Regions from separate parts of the Homo sapiens genome. Here region 2 is linked to region 1. The links are contacts of gene promoters, found by promoter capture Hi-C in blood cells and fetal thymus (Javierre and others, 2016). All regions are on one chromosome and are shown on one strand. Each heading gives the region's core, a stretch centred on a gene start or on the middle of the fragment in contact. The rest is flanking DNA. Distances are from core to core; before and after follow the strand shown. Region 1 holds the start of ZNF169 (zinc finger protein 169). Region 2 holds the start of TDRD7 (tudor domain containing 7).

The links. The method cuts DNA at HindIII sites, captures the fragments that hold promoters and counts their contacts. A CHiCAGO score of 5 or more calls a contact.
Region 2: a contact is called between a fragment that was not itself captured here and the fragment with the promoter of ZNF169 in region 1, in 2 of 17 cell types (activated CD4 T cells and non-activated CD4 T cells). The highest score is 6.7, in activated CD4 T cells.

The regions. Positions count from the first base shown.
Region 1 is chr9:94,257,199-94,261,015 of GRCh38, forward strand. It overlaps ZNF169 (zinc finger protein 169), which reads left to right and starts at 2,100. Exons shown (of 5, transcript NM_194320.4): 1 at 2,100-2,147. LINC02603 (long intergenic non-protein coding RNA 2603) reads right to left here and starts at 2,113. Exons shown (of 3, transcript NR_160773.1): 1 at 1,913-2,113. RefSeq lists enhancers at 1,619-2,264, 2,103-2,422, 2,265-2,911, 2,453-2,582, 2,912-3,557. The HindIII fragment of the contact is 11,618 bases long and covers 1-3,817 here.
Region 2 is chr9:97,412,073-97,415,889 of GRCh38, forward strand. It overlaps TDRD7 (tudor domain containing 7), which reads left to right and starts at 24. Exons shown (of 17, transcript NM_014290.3): 1 at 24-166. RefSeq lists silencers at 1-60, 81-290, 375-669 and enhancers at 5-506, 507-1,006, 611-870. The HindIII fragment of the contact is 157 bases long and covers 2,122-2,278 here.

The DNA.
Region 1 (3,817 bases), core at 850-3,349:
TTTCCTCACATGTACATGCTGGTCAGCACTTAACTAATACCTGAGGAAGAGGACTCTCTGCACATCTCTGGCGCTCTCTCTCCCTTTCTGTACTCTGCCCTGTGAACTCTAGATGCATATGCCTCCTCAGATTCCCAGTTCCATCTCCTCAAGTTGAACTCCATGCTTCACTTGAGTTTCCCTTCTCTGTGCTATGACTTGGAAATTCTCTCCATCTGCGGGAAGTTCAAAGGCTCACCTCCATGATTTCCACTGCTCTTCATTGTCTGATGTCAAATGTCTTCAAATGTTTCATATATTTTGTCCTTTTAAATGTTGATTAAGGTGAAGGGCTAAATCTGGTTCCTGTTACTTCATTTTGAGAAGAAGCAAATAGGAAGTAACTTAAAAATACCACTTTTTATCAAATTCTTAGAAAAAGAGTATAACTCATTTTGCAAAGACTTTGGTATGTTTTTGAGCGTATTATTCTGTTACATCTAATAAACAATCTTTGCATTAGTAAGATAACTTTAATTGCTATAGTGTTAAATGTCCTCAAGTTTAGTTTTTCCTTATCTTCTTGTAATCAATTGGAATTAAAAAAAAAACTTCAGAATCTTCTTCTTTATAACAGGAAAAAAAACCCCAGTATTTTTGGCATTTTTAGAAGTACATTCATACACACTGTCATTTAAAACATGGGGGTGGGAGGTGGAGCAAGATGGTGGAATGGAAGGCTCCACTGATCATTCCCCCTTGTAAGAAAAACAAGTTAACAACTATTTACACACAAAAGCACCTTCACAAGAACCAAAAATCAGGTAAGCACTCGCAGTACCTGGTTTTTACTTCATATGACTGAAAGAGGCACTGAAAAGGTAGGAAAGACAGTCTTGAATCACCAATGCCCCTGACCCATCCCCCAGCAGTGGCTCTGTGGTGCGGAGAGAGAATCTATGTTCTTGGGAGACGGCAAGCACAGCAATGATGAGACATTGCATTGAACTCAGTGCTGCCCTGTTATACCAGAAAGCAAAACTGGATCAAACACAGCTGATTCTCACGCATGGAGGGAGTATTTACACCAGCCTTAGCCCGAGGAGAATCACCTATCCCAGCAGTTGGAATTTGAGTTACTGCCAATCTCACCACCTCTGGCTAGAGGGCCCTAAATAAACTCGAAAGGCAGCCTGGGCCACAAGGACGGCTCACGCCTGTAATCCCAGCACTTTGGGAGCCTGAAGTGGGAAAATTGCTTGAGGCCAGGAGTTCCAGACCAGCCTGGTCAACATAGCGAGACCCAGATTCTTTTTTTTTTTTTTCCCCCTTGAGAAGGAATCTCACTCTGTTGTCCAGGCTGGAGTACAGTGGTGCGATCTTGGCTCACTGCAACCTCCACCTCCCGAGTTCAAAGTGATTCTCCTGCCTCACCCTCCTGAGTAGCCGGGACTACAGGCGCCCATCACGACGCCCAGGTAATTTTTGTATTTTTAGTAGAGACGGGATTTTACCACATTGGCCAGGCTGCTCTCGAACTCCTGACCTCTGATCCGCCCGCCTCAGCCTCCCAAAGTGCTGGGATTACAGGCGTGAGCCACCGCGCCCGGCCGCGAGACCCAGATTCTAAAAAACAAAACAAAAAATTAGCCCGGTGTGGTGCTATGCACCTGTATTCCCAGCTACTCAGAAAGTTGAGGTGAGAGGATTGCTTGGCCAGGGGTTTGAGGCTGCAGTGAGCTATGATCACACCATTGTACTGCAGCCTGGCCGACAGAGCAAGACCCCTTCTCAAAAAATAAGTAAGTAGATAAAGTTCAGGGGTGTACAATCACAGGTGTGAATTTGCAGGATGGAGGACATGTAACATCTTTTTAAAAAAAAAAAAAATTAGAAGGACCGTATAAAAAGTTAAAGAAGACTTACTGCTCACCTGACCACCCTTCTCATAGACCCGAAAGTTAGATTTTACTTTCTGATTTTTCACAATTTCTCCTGGATGCTGCGGTCCCGCCCCTCGCAGCATTCTGGATGTTGTAGTCCCTCGCTCCAGGGCATCCACGGTAGGGTAGTTGCGCGCCCCGTGGCAGTCTGGGTAGTGTAGTTCCGTGCCCAGGGGCAGTCCGGCTCGCGTACTTCCGCGTTCCGGCATCGTCGCCTGGTGCGTGGTGAGTGTCCTTTCACAGTTCTGGTGAGCTAGCCCGGAGGTGGTCCCCGCTTTCGCGGGCCTTCCACTGGAAGGAAGGTCGGGAAAGCTGGCATGGGCAGTCCATGTCGTGGCCACATGTTCCTTGGTGTTTTGAGTTTCGGCTGTGGGGTCTGGGCGTGCGTGGTCCACCCCGGAGAGAGGTCTTGGCGGAGGTCCTCTGGTGGGGAGGGGGCGTTGGCGTTGTCGCGTGCTTCTGGCGGGACTTTGGGCCCAGTATGTTGACCTGGAGGGGCCAGTGCAGGCCTGGGACCGACTTCCCGAGCTACTTCGCAGGTGCGTCCCCGGTACTTCGGGGGCCGCTGAGTGGGCTCTGCCTGGGGTACCCAGACAGCATCCTGCCACTAGTATCCCGCCATCCCCTCCCCACCATCGCGCCTCGGAGGTCTCTGGGCCAGCAAATGTGCCTTTGGAGGACATGATATCCTCGGTTGGAGCAAACTTCCCCATTAGTGGGAGGCACGCGGCTTGGGCATCAGTCGGGTTGTTTATTTGTTTATTTATTAAATTTTATTTATTTATTTATTTATTTTTGAAACAGAGTCTCTCTCTGTCGCCCAGGCTGGAGTGCAGTGGCGCAATCTCGGTTCACTGCAATCTCCGCGCCCCACCCCAGCCGCCGGGTTCAAGCCATGCTCCCGCGTCAGCCTCCCGAGCAGCTGGGATTACAGGCACCCGCCACCACGCCCGGCTAATTTTTTGGTTTTTGTTTTGTTTTGTTTTTTTGAGACAGAGTTTCGCTCTTGTCGCCCAGGCTGGAGTGCAGTGGCGTGATTCCCCTGCCTCAGGCTCCCGAGTAGCTGGGACTACAGGCGCACGCCACCACGCCCGGCTAATATTTTGTGTTTTAGTAGAGACGGGGTTTCACCATGTTGGCAAGGCTGGTCTCGAACTCCTGACCTCAAGTAATCCCCCCGCCTCGGCCTCCCAAAGTACTGGGATTACAGGCGTGAGCCACCGTGCCCAACCTCAGTCCAGTTATTAGGGCTCTTGTGGATGGCTGGTGCACTGTGGTGGTGATGGTGCAGCTTGGCCACTAGGACCCGGGTTTGTGGGGGAGGATTGTTTGTGGGTAGACATCCAGACTTGGTCTTGATAGTGGGGGGGGGGACGGCTAGGGCCGTGCGACTCGGGTCAGTAGCCTTGGGGCCTGGGGACCCAAGTTGGTGAGTTGAGAAGGGCTTGCCTGGAGTTAGACATCCCTGGGTTGTGGGTTGCATGGGGGCGTGCTTGTATCCAGATTGTCGGCTTCTGCAGCTGTGTGGCTCCCTCGGACTTGGGGACCCTTCCGGGAGCATGGGTTGCAACAAGCAGAATGGTGCCCATAGGGCCAAGGAACATTTTTCTCAAGCCTCAGGGGGCTGTTGAGTGACTCCTTGAATTCCTGGAGGTGGGGGAAGAAGTTGGGTGGAAGGCATCCAAACCTACATTTTTTTTTTTTTTTTTTTTTTTTTTGAGATGAAGTCTCACTCTGTCGCCCAGGCTGGAGTGCAGTGGAGTGATCTCAGCTCACTGCAACCACGGCCTCCCGGGTTCAAGCAATTCTCTGCCTCAGGCTCCTGAGTAGCTGGTACCACAGGCGCCCGCCACCACGCCCGGCTAATTTTTTTTGTATTTTTAGTAGAGACGGGG
Region 2 (3,817 bases), core at 950-3,449, 3.2 Mb after region 1:
CGAGCAGGGCGGGGCGGGGGCTTGAGGTGATTCCCAAGCCGCGGGGCGGCTCCGGTGGTGCGGGGAAACCGAAAGTGGGCGGCGGCCGCGGCGGGGCCCCTGGCGGAGACGGCGGCAGGAGCTGGGCCCAGAGACGCGGGGACGGGCCGTGGGCCCCCGGAACGAGGTGAGTGCAGGTCCTGCGGGCTCCGGGCGCGACAGGTGCCGGGCGACGTCGGACGAGATTTCGGGCGGGCGCGGCGCACCTGGGTCACCGGTGGGACCGCGGCCAGGGCCGGGGGCTCCAACAGGCTCGGGGCCTTTTCCCTGCAGCCGCAGGGGATTGCCCCCGCCCCGACGCCTGGGAACCGGGCTGGGCGCCGGGGGAGTTGGAGTTCCAGAGCGTTGTGTTTTAAATCTCTGAAGGGACCCTGCTCCGGGCCGGGCGTTCACGCGGGAGTCGGACGGAGCCTCCTGCCGCCTCGGAAGCTCTGCGCCGTGGGGGAAATGCAGCAGCGGGGTGTGGACGCGGGCGGGAGATGCGGACCAGGAAGTGGTTCCCGCTACCGGCGCGACAGGCCGCAGCCGCCGCCCCCAGCGAGGGATGTCCGCGCTCCCCTATTTGAACCCAAGTATTTTACACCACGAACTTCTCTTGAAGGTCTCTATAATCTGGAGACGAGCCCCAGGCAGGCCGCTTAAGTAATGCAGGACACACATCCCCATTTCTCTCAAACGAGGAGCACCCAGTGGGTACAGAGCACCCAGCTGGGAGGGAAACATGGATCCGTGAGTAAGTTGTCTCTCAACTTTCAGTAGCATCCCCTCAGCAGGGTCAGACTCTCAGCTTCAGCTTGCTAGGAGGGAGCTTGGAGCCGGCATATCTTTCTGCTCCCATTCACTTGAGAGGTATATTTCCATTAATAGCTAAAGGTACCATTCTCAAATAATTTCTAAGAGCAGGGAAGGGAAACAACCACATTAGAACAAGTCCTGGCCCAGAAGAATTCTGATCACCGCCCATCCAAACCAAACCAAACCAAAAAACCACAGATCTAGTTCATTAACCCTCCTACCAACACCTCTCTGCTCTCCAATCGTGCCGGTGAAAAAAATGCAGAGAAATGTTCTCTCTAGAGAGATAGGCAACAGCTTAATAGCAGAAGTAAAACTTGGACCCAAATCCCTGTCTCGTCCTGGGCTGCCTTGATGTGTATGAATGTGTTGCATACTGCAAATAATGTGAACTTTGCAGACCTGGATTGAAATCTGGGCTTCTCATTTTACAAATTGTGTGATCTTGAACAAATTACATGCTTTCTCTTAGCCTGGTTTTCTATGTGTCAAATAGAGGTACCTGGCTTACTTTGCAAGGCTTTTCCAAGATAACCACTGTATATCCTTTGCCTCATAATAATTGCCAAGCAGTATTCACTCTCTTCCTCCCAACAAACGGTCCATGTTTTACATAATTGGATTTTAGTTTTTTGAGGGCAGGGACACAAAGATCTTTGTGTTTACTATATAATATAAATGGGCACATGGTGGATATTTTTGCATTTCCTCTCAGCTGACATTCATTGAGCATCAGTTACGTGCAAAGTACTGTTCTGGGTATAGGGAATTGCCCCTGGGGCCAGCTGGATTAGCACTCACATCTCCTGTGCCCCAATCCAGGGCCCTTTGGTGGCACACAGCCTCCGTCTTTGGTAGTTGCACGGTGAGACTGTGAGGCAGCAGTTGGCAGTGCCTTCAGATTTCAGTCTCTGTAGATTGAAAATGAAGTGTAATCCCCTGCTAATGCCCTTTTAAGTGTACAGGTTGAACATGGCTGAATGAACTATTGTATTGTGCATCAAGAGATTTTAAACTCCTTGCAGAACCCCTCTTTTAAGTTCTCTGTGCAATATAATCTAGCTGGATACTTAATGTGAATATAAAGAAAAAATATAATCCAACCCCGAGTGCCTAATTTGTGTTTGTCAAGTGCTGTTTTCAAGAATTGAGATTTGACATAGAGTGCTTTGCATCTGGACACTTTCACAGAAGTTCCTTGGTGAAATTTTATATTTACGTGAACTGTTGTTTCTTTGTGCCAAACCTGCTTTTTCCTCCCTCCACTCCCACCTCTGTACTTTTGAAAGCTTCATTCTTGTCATTATTTCCCTGTAAGCCAAATATGTTTACAGTTTTGTCTTTCAAACTAAAAGTAATTAATTTTGCAATTTTTAGTTGAAGACATGTATATATGCCAATCAGAACTTGATCAGTGCAAGCTACCCAGTGTGACTTCAAAGTAAGCTTGGCATTTTAGCCTGTGCAGCTTTGTCATGAGTAAGCAAACTCGGTTTTCATTACATATTTGGACCTTATTTCAGCCTTCAGTGAATCCAAGGAAAGTTGAGAATCATGGCTCTTGCCCACCTTTCTTATCTTCCTTGTGAAAAAAAGAGACCTGAAGTGACTTGTCACAGGTAATCAGTAGCGGAACTAGGATTAAGACACAAACTCCTTACTAAGCCACTTTATTATCTCAGGGTTTTTTCGTCTAGTATGTAGACTTATGGAAATCCCTTACTTACGTACATTCGTGGTATGCAGTTAAAATGCACGAATAATTTGGAACTTGAGATCACAAGAATAAAAAAGATAACTCCCTGAAAAAAACTCTTAAGGAAGTATACCATCATCTGAGGGTATTAATCATCTTTTTCCTTTAAAAACCGGTTGGTGAAGGAGTAATTGAAGTGGTAACAGACTATGATTAGAAAGAAAAGAGCATTTAAAAGTGTCGCAAGGTGAGAAATCATTTATTGGGTAAAGATCTTAGGAAAAAATTTTCCCTCTGAGGCTCAGTTTATTGATTTGTAAGATAAGGAGCTTGGGTTAGCCTAGACGATGCCTAAAATGTGTCAGCACAGACATTATGGGACTTTAAGTTCCCGCTGTTGCTAAAATAGTGTCTTCAAGGAGAAGGGCAGTTAGTTATTAGAAGTATATGCCCTAAAGAGATATCCAGATACTTCAAAATTGAACATCTAACTAAAAGAAGCTAAGAGAGATTACTTGGTGTTTTCAGTTTACCCTAATAATTCTTCTGATTTGTTTTAAGATTTAGTGCCACTCGACAACTTAAACTGATGACATGAAAAATGTAGTAAGGAAGATGAGCCAAATCATACAGTTGGAAATAGTTGAGCAAGAAGAAACTTAGAAAAGAGAAGGCATAGGATGGAAGCCAGACTAGCTCAGCTAAAGGCCTTTGACACCAGTAGTTAGAGGAAGCAGATAACATGCAAATGACTGAGCCAGGGAGGATCAATCAATGGTAGAAGGCGTTTATCTGGGATACACCAAAACCAGGTTCTTCAGAATAGGACTTCCTTGGGCCATTTTCAGGTATAGTAAAGAGAAAAGCTGTGAATTTACAAAATGCAGTTTTGAAGTAGAGTGAGAATTATTTTAGGCCACTTAAATTATTTAAATTTTGTTTCCCTAAAGATTGTCATCACTCCCCAACTCCCCACCCCACCTCATGTGCATTATTAGTGTCTTGGATAATTAAGATTAACTGGGTATAAGCGAAGAAAAAAAGGAAAGCACGAAAGCATAAAAAAGATAGTCTCAGCTACTCAGGAGGCTGAGGCGGGAGAATCACTTGAACCCGGCAGGCGGAGGTTGCAGTGAGCCAAGATTGCGCCACTGCACTCCAGTTGAAATTCCTATGATATACTTTCTTTTATGCTTCTAATGGATGATGTCTAAGATATTAAACTTTATTTTTATAGTTAGAACAAAGTATTCTTATATACCTTGAGAGTATAATTGCCATCTTCCG